2 separate regions of the Homo sapiens genome follow, and region 2 is linked to region 1. The links are contacts of gene promoters, found by promoter capture Hi-C in human tissues and cell types (Jung and others, 2019). All regions are on one chromosome and are shown on one strand. Each heading gives the region's core, a stretch centred on a gene start or on the middle of the fragment in contact. The rest is flanking DNA. Distances are from core to core; before and after follow the strand shown.

Region 1 (3,994 bases), core at 638-3,137:
GAGCTTGGGATTTGGCCCCATAAGAGACCCAAGTTCAAAATTGTAACTCTGTTGCCTGGCAGCGGCAAAGTCCTTTTGTCTTCATAGTAATGAGACAGTGGACAGTTCCTACTGGCAAGTCAGTGGTCCACACAGGGGCCGCATATCAGGCTATCCAGGTATCCCAGCCCTCAAAGTGGGTTATAAGGTATCCATCCCCCCTACCCCCATTCCAAGAAAGTGGCTTCTGGCCAACTCAGGAGGGGGCTGGCAGAGTTGCACTCATGAAGCCCGGCTTCCCTTCAGGAAAGCTACAGAGAAGTGACTGCCCTGAAATCTGAAACTTAACGTTTTTTCCCCAGTTTCACAGGGTTTTGCTTTCAGGTTTCTTTTGCCCTCTGCCATTCTGGGCAGAGCAAACTGAGCCCTGTCTTCCCTGGATGCTATCGTTCAGGCCCTTCAACAAGGCCAGGGGTCTGTCATCCCTGCCCAGGATCTCAGAGCTAGACTCCTTTCTGGGGACCCTGGGGGCACACACTGGGAGGGGGATGGGGGTGGGGAGTGGACCCTGCAACCTCTCCAAATCCCACAGTTCTTCTGGCCCAAGGGTTTGGAGGAGATTCACAGACCCTACAGTCCTTCAAGATGCTCCATAGTGAATCCAGTGAACTGAAAAAAGGTGGAGAGGGTCCTGGTAGGAGCGTGGGCTTCTGATTCAGAGCTGGGACCAAGCTCTTACCCTGCCATTTCCTAGCATTTGTTCCCTGGGGCTGTCTTCTGTCCGCATAACGGGAGCAACACCAGTTGTAGAGGATCAAATGCAGCAAGTACTCCCTGTAGATAAGAGCGAGTGTTACTACTCTGCCCCCGCCATCCCGCCCCAACCTCTATCACCCTACTCCCAGATTATCTCCCTATGTTTTGAGTTGCAGGACTCTCTCTCAGCATTTTTTTTCTGGCGGGGGGTGGGGGTGGTACCAACCCAGAGTCCGGGCCATCTGGGGCTGTCTCTGCTTGCTTTCTCAAATCTGTAGTCTCTTCTCCCCTGACTGGCAGGGCCGGCCAGAAACCAGTGCCAGCCAAGACTGGATGGTCTGCCTGATTCGAAAAGTTGGGGCGTGCTTTCTCCTTCAACTCTTTCAAAGAAAACGTTCTTGTCTGGATCTTTCTGGCTGTGGTGACCGCCGGCTTGACCTCAGTGGACCCACTCATTTCTGGAACTGTCCTCTGCACCCCGCCCTGCCCTAAGTCCCGCTCCAGATCTCACCCCATGCCACCCAATCCGACACCCGACACACAGAGTCCTAGGGTCCAGGAGCGGCCGTCCCAACACGGGGCGCTTGCACACGCCGACAGACCTCCTTGGAGGAGCCGCTCGCAGGGAGGACAAGCCCGGGACTCCGCCCCCCGCCCTGCCACGAGTTCCACCGCGAGATAAGAGGGCCCTTCCCCAACGACGCAGAATGCCAGAAGGCAATCTGGGCGCGGGTTGCTGAGCCCGGGCCCCTCCTTAACTTCCCCGACCCGGTCTTTCCCCACTGATCTCTCCGACCTGCCCCTCTGGGTAGCTTCAGCCCCGGGTCCACGCGCTGCTATTGGCCCTCCCCGACCGCTCGGCTCCACCTTCAGCGTCGCGATTGGTCAGCTCGCGGGGCCCCGCCCCGTTTTCCTGGAAAGTTCTTGGAAATCTGTCAAAGTATTTCCTTTCACTGCTCAGGGCCCCAGACCCGGCGACGGGGCCCGCGCACCCCGCCCGGGCCCCACCGCTCAGCCCGCGGTTCTAGGAAGACGCTGCTTCCGGGAAGGGCTGGAACGCGGCAGACAAAGGATTAGGCAGCAGCTCGCCCCGCCCCGCTCGTCTGGCCCGCCCCCCTCGCCCTCGCAGGCGGTCCGCGCCACTGCCTCTCAGTCCCTGTCCTGCGCCCGCGCGCCCCGGGAGCCTACCCAGCACGCGCTCCGCGCCCACTGGTTCCCTCCAGCCGCCGCCGTCCAGCCGAGTCCCCACTCCGGAGTCGCCGCTGCCGCGGGGACATGGTCCTCTGCGTTCAGGGGTAAGCGCGGCTCTCTGCCCCCTTCCCGGCCACCACGAGGGGCGCACGGGAGAACAGGGGCTTCGTGCTAGCTGCCGGGCATTGGGAGGGCTTGACGGGCCAGAGGTGACTGAGCGCAGACGGACCTCAGGAGCAAGGCTCTGTGTGGGGCTGTGACACTCCCACTCCCCGCCCCCACACACTTACCTCAATTCCCACTGTGGATTGGGAAACCGGGGGCTGGCCGGCTAAAGGAGGAACTCACAGGGTGGGCTCAGCCTGGGTTCTCATTGGAGCAGATGGATGCTAACGGCACGGCGTCCCCCAAGATGTGGCCAACAATCCCAGATATTCTTCTGGGCCCAGAGCACTCTACGCTAGCCTGCCTGCTGCCCTGCCTGCTAGTAACCTTGGACCAGCCCCTGGCCCCCTCTGTCCTGGTGTCCCCTCTCCTGCCCCAGGCTAGCAAGTAGGCTCTTCTTGGGAAGCCAGCCGCAGATCCTTGCCTTTCCTCAGGCTGGCACCTGATGGTCTGCAACTCTCGGGAGGCCCTGGGTTTGGCCTGGTCCTGCTTGGGGTACCCCCACAATCGTCTCACAACCCTGTCTCAGCCCAGTCTGGGATCCCAATGTGAGAAGGACCTTGGCTCCTGCCTCTCATCTTCAAATTTCCCAGACTTGAGGTAAGGGACAGTGGAGAGGGGATGCTGATAAGACAGAGTCTTGACCTGAGCTGAGCATTCCTGGCCATCCACTCTGTCCTGAACCTCAGCAACCCCTTCAACCAAAGGGTCTGATGCTGGCCATGGTGATGTGACAGGAGCTCAGGAAGCTCCAAGGAGAGAGGAAGAAGGTATAAATGGGTGTTCTGCACTCAGGGAGGACTGGGTGGCTGTGCTTATCGCAACTGGCCTGGTGCCAAGTGAGGGAGGGTGGAAGGTGAGGCCAAGGAAGAGGACATGGAGGTGCTGGGAAGACTACTTCTCCCTTGCTGTCTCCAGCAAGTTCCTTCCTCCTGTCTGCATTCTGGGACTCCTGAATACCTGCCCCACCACTGCCTTCCACCCCAGGAGCCTCCCCCTGCATTCCGGGGTCCCATAGCCTCTTTCACTTTTTACCCTAGGTGAGCACCCCCTTGTAAGCTCAGGGCTACTGTTGGGTGTCAGGGAACAAAGTTTTAGACTGCTGCGCTCCAAAGCGGGCACACACATGTACCTAGAACACACCAGCCACTGTCCCCACCATGATGATGACACAGCCATGGACACACCCCTGCCCAGGTACACACTCACCAGGAGCTTGTGGTGATCAACACAGCTATTCATACACCCAGCTACCACATCAGCCCCAAAGGTGCCCACACCTACATGTGGGATCTGAGGACCGGCTAAGCTATCTGGACGTGGCCACCCACAGAGGTTCCAGCCTGACTGGCTAGCCACCAACCATGCTCCTGGGAAGGTAGCTCTGGGCCCCAGCAAGCAGGTCATCTCAAAATTTGGCCTCCAGCTCTCCAAGAGGGATTTCCAAGATCCCACAGTACAGCCAGGGTAGGTGTGGAAAAGTTTTTGTCAGGCTGTGGTGTGCCAGAGTTGTGTGGCCCTTTCTCACTGTGAGTGGTCATAGGGCCATGATTTGTTAGAACCTAGAGGGTCACCTATAACCTACACAGGAGTCAGGTCTGGCTCCTGCCACCAGCTCCTGCCTGCGCCTTCCTGCCTCACAAGCAATACTGGCGCTGTTTGCCCATGCTGTCCTCTCTACCTGGGGTCCCTTCCCCCAGCTCCTTCCTTTGGCCTGGAAGACACAGCTCAGGAGCAAGCAGACCCTGACTCCCCCGTGACACCTGCAGTTTTATGACTTTGCATTATAATTACTCTTAGTGTCATCTTCCCCAGCCAGTCTGGTTCTCCTTGAGGGCAAGGCCATGGTTTCATTATGGCGGTGTCCTGAGGCCCAGCCAGGGACTAGACCCAGAACTAAGGC
Region 2 (3,994 bases), core at 956-3,455, 70 kb after region 1:
GGATTACAAGCACTCGCCACCACACCCAGCTAATTTTTGTATTTTTAGTAGAGATGGGGTTTCACTGTGTTGGCCAGGCTGGTCTCGAACTCCTGATCTTGTGTTCCACCCGCCTCGGCCTCCTAAAGTGCTAGGATTACAAGTGTGAGCCACCGCGCCTGGCTATTACTTTTTTCCGTGTAGAAATGTTTGGTTTTTGTGGAGTCAGGTGTATCCATGTTTTCTCTTACGGCTTTTGTGTTTTTTGTTATATTTAGAAAAGGCTAGACCAAATCAAACCTTTGTTTTTGCCTAGAGATTTTTTCTTCATTCTTTAGTCCCCCTACCTTTGATCCAGCTAGAACTGGTTTTTGTTTTAAGGTGTGAGGTAGGGGTCCAAGTGGATTTCCACCCCCAGATTATCATCCAGTGATTTCAACACCATATTTTCCCAGAGGTTATGCTTGACTGAGTTGTTGAGACTTTAGGAAGTGTATGACAGGGGAAATAGCACATCCTGTTGCCTGGTGGGTGGAAAGGGGCAAACTTTGTCAGGACACCATCCCCAGTAGGACAGGGTGAGCTGGGTGGGATTTACCTCCTGGAGGTTGAGGAAAAGGAGGTAAAGGTCCATGGGAGGAACTGCACTTGACTTTTCCCTTGGATTCCAGGAGCAGTCCATTTTTGTACCCAATTTTAACTTTGCCTGCCACATCACAATTCCTTCAGTAGACTTTGTGACTTTGACATAATCTTTTTTTTTCTTTTCTTTTTTTTTTTTTAGACAGGGTTTCACTTTATCACCCCAGGTTGGAGTGCGGTGGCGCAATCTCGGCTTACTACAGCTTTGACCTCCCCTGCTCAAGCGATACTCCCACCTCAGCCTCCTGAGCAGCTGGAGCTACAGGCATGCAACACCGTGCCTGGCTAATATTTAAAAAATTTATTTGGAGAGATGGGGTCTTGTCATGTTTCCCGGGCTGGTCTCCAACCCGTAGGCTTAAGCAACCCACCTGCCTTGGTCTCCCAAAGTGTTGGGATTACAGGTGTGAGCCACCGTGCCTGGCCCCATGCCATAATCTTGAGCTTGAGGTGTAGAAAGGAACTATATTCCTTCCTGAGGGCCCTCTGCTGGGGGTTCCTGAGCAAGCCTCCCCTCTTCCCCCCACCCCTGCCCCTGCTCTGGAACTAGGGGTGGTGTATTATGACACAAGTAGGTGACAATGGGGTGTGGAGGAGAGCCTCATGGGACTCAATCCAGGTCCTGCAAGAAGAAGACCAGCAGCATTTGTGAGTAAGGCGAGGACAGGGCAGGCAGGGCCCGGCTAGGCCGCACCCACCTCCCAGCTCCACCTTCTCCCTGCCTGCCTCCCAGATCCCACTCTTCCCTCTCTTCCATACACCAAGACCCATTGTGTGTGCCCCTGGATGTCATTTGGGCCCTCTGTTCCCCTTAGTATAGTAGAGGCCAGACAGGCATCCCTGATGCTAGATTGGCCTTGCTAGCATTCTGGAAGGCTATGGTGGGCAAATGTCTGATGGCACCTGGGGAGGCTCTGAACCAAGCTGAGTGAGGGCAAAGGTTGCAGGCCAGGATGCTGACCTGGAGCAAGGAGTGCATATTCTACCTCCCTGTGCCTCTGCTCCCTCAGGAGCATCCTTCCCTCCACTGCCTTCTCCAATTCCTTCTGGGAACTGGAATAGCAGGTGTTTTAGGTGCTTTACGTCTTTCAGCCACCAGGTGGCAGCAGTGCAAGCCCTACTCTGCCTCACTCCATCCCCTCCTTGGAGCTGTGGATTTAACCTCCAAAGAGACTCTGAGGTCCTCCAAAGAGTTGAGGAAAGATGGGGTCATGCCCCCCCACTCCCCCAGGCACAGGAACCCCTTCAATCTCAGAGGAATGAGGGGCCTGTGGCCCTGGCTCCCTTCCTAGCCCCACCCCTGTAGAAGCTGCTGGGGCAGTAGCTGAGCTGGAGGAACAGACTGGATGCTACTAGGGTGAGCCTCAGGGTCTAGGCCCCCTGAGATGCCCACACTGACCAGGCCCACTAATTCTCAGATGTCAACCAGAGAGGACCCTTCCTGGAGCCCAAGGAGGCAGGGAGTGTAGAGGGAGAGAAGAGGAGCCAGGACCTGGCTGGCTCCTCCACTGCCCCTGCCTGGTTACCCACCCAGGGCTCAGCACCAGGGTGGTGGTAAAGGCTCTGGCACTGGCCTCCCATGGGCTGAGCTGAGCTGGGCCCCAGAGCTACCCCCCCCACCACCCCACACACACCTGTGGAGCACACCTCCCCTCCTCCCCACAGAGGGCGGTGTCCAGGAGGGTTTATGGATTCTCCCAACATATTGTGCCCTCCTCTGCCCCATCTTGTCCCCATTCACAACCCCTGCATCAATAAGGCTGCACCAACCTCCTCATAGTCCACTACAGCTCCATACCCCTCTCATTTGTCTCCATCATTGGGGGTGGAGGTGCCCTGACTTGCTAATATCTACATGCACCCCCCTCTGGGTTCCAGCCACAGGGGCCAGCCCAGGCAGGGCTCAAGGAACCTGCTTTCTGGGTGTGCAAGGTCCTTGGGTCCTGGCCATCTGAACCCCCTCTGAGAGCCTAGATCCAAACCCATAAGCCTTTACATGGAGTCCCTCAGAGATGGGCAGCCTGTTGCCCTGGAAACACTCCTCTTGTTTCCTGTCCATGACCAGGGCCTGCCTTATGCTGACCTGAATGACCATGGGGACTCAGGCACTCATGGATGGGTGGGGAAAGCAGCTGGGACCTCGGTTCCTATGCAAGGCTTGGTGAGGTGCCTCCTCTTTGGGGCTCCCCAGTGCTAAGGGGAGATAGATAATAAACAGGTGTGTCAACAAAACAAGGCATTTTCAGGCTCTGGAGGAAACCAACCAGGACTGCATGGGAATAAAAATGGAGGGGGCAGATTCTGATGGCGATCAAGGAGGGAGGGCACCTTCAGCACTGGCTGAGACCTGAATGTCAAGAGTTGCTGGCCATGCAGGGATCTGGGACAGAAGGGTTCCAGATGAGGGGAAAAAAACAGCAAAAGCAAAGGTCCAGAAGATTCTTGGGGAAACAGCAGGAAGCTGATGTGGCAGGAGGGGAGCGGCATGGGCAAGGAAATGCCAGGGCAGAGGGGAGGGCCTGGCCTTACTGCGTGGAGAGGCCAGAAAGGACAGCAGGGGCAGATGTGGGAATGAATGAATGAAGAAATGAACAAGGTCTGGGACCAGGCCTTTCCAGCAGCCTAGTCCTTGCCCTGAGGTCTTTCTTGGTCCACTTGACAAATGGGGAAAACCCACCACTCCTTGCTCTGGCGGAGGCTTGACCCACAGTGCAATTGAGGGCCTGGCAGGGCTCAGCTTTCCAACCTGAGACAGGGCAGAGCCAGCCGACCTCTGCTGATACTCTCAGCCCCTGCGTCAGGGAGGGTGGGGTGGGCGGATGGCCCCCATAGGCTACGGAGAGTTGGGTCCCAGCTGCCCAGGAAGATCCACTGCAAGAGGTCTCCTTGACTCCCTGGCCCAGCCCAGAGCCATCCCTCAGGCCCAAGGCTGCCTTGCCAGGCCCTGACCTCCACCTCAGACAGGAATCATTTATCTCCATCAACTGCTCCCAGCAGCCAGGCCCTCGGCCAGCAGGTGCTGTCTCCATTCCATGAGGTTGACACTGGGCAGCCCTTCCTCCACTCTCAGTCTCATCAGCTGGACTCCCCAGGAGGAGGCCAAATCAGGCAGCCCCTGCACAGTCTGCAGGGGCTTAGAGGAGCGACCCCTTCCCTCCAAGCCCCCAGAAGACCCAGCTTCTAACACATCAGGGTTAATCCACCCCAGACATCTGCGACTGCCCACTGCAGGCCTACCATGTGTTGGGCACTGGGCTCAGCATGGTGAACAAGGCCAGGGTTCCACCCCTACCCACACAGAGCTATATTCTTCTGGCCAGGACGGACTTGGTTCCCCAGGCCCAGCCACATGACCAGTGCAGGCTCGGGGAGC

The links. Contacts are between HindIII fragments. The study calls those that stand out against the background at their distance.
Region 2: a fragment that was not itself captured here is called in contact with the fragment with the promoter of CISH in region 1 in 2 of the 25 tissues and cell types used here (mesendoderm cells and small bowel).

What each region holds. Positions count from the first base shown.
Region 1 is chr3:50,609,667-50,613,660 of GRCh38, reverse strand. It overlaps CISH (cytokine inducible SH2 containing protein), which reads left to right and starts at 1,887. Exons shown (of 3, transcript NM_145071.4): 1 at 1,887-2,030. The coding sequence starts at 2,011. It also overlaps a transcript of MAPKAPK3 not described here. RefSeq lists enhancers at 1,369-1,458, 2,368-2,928 and a silencer at 1,539-2,018. The HindIII fragment of the contact is 7,054 bases long and covers 1-3,994 here.
Region 2 is chr3:50,540,350-50,544,343 of GRCh38, reverse strand. No RefSeq gene overlaps it. Among named protein-coding and RNA genes, the nearest start is that of C3orf18, 25 kb to the left of the region's middle. The HindIII fragment of the contact is 8,809 bases long and covers 1-3,994 here.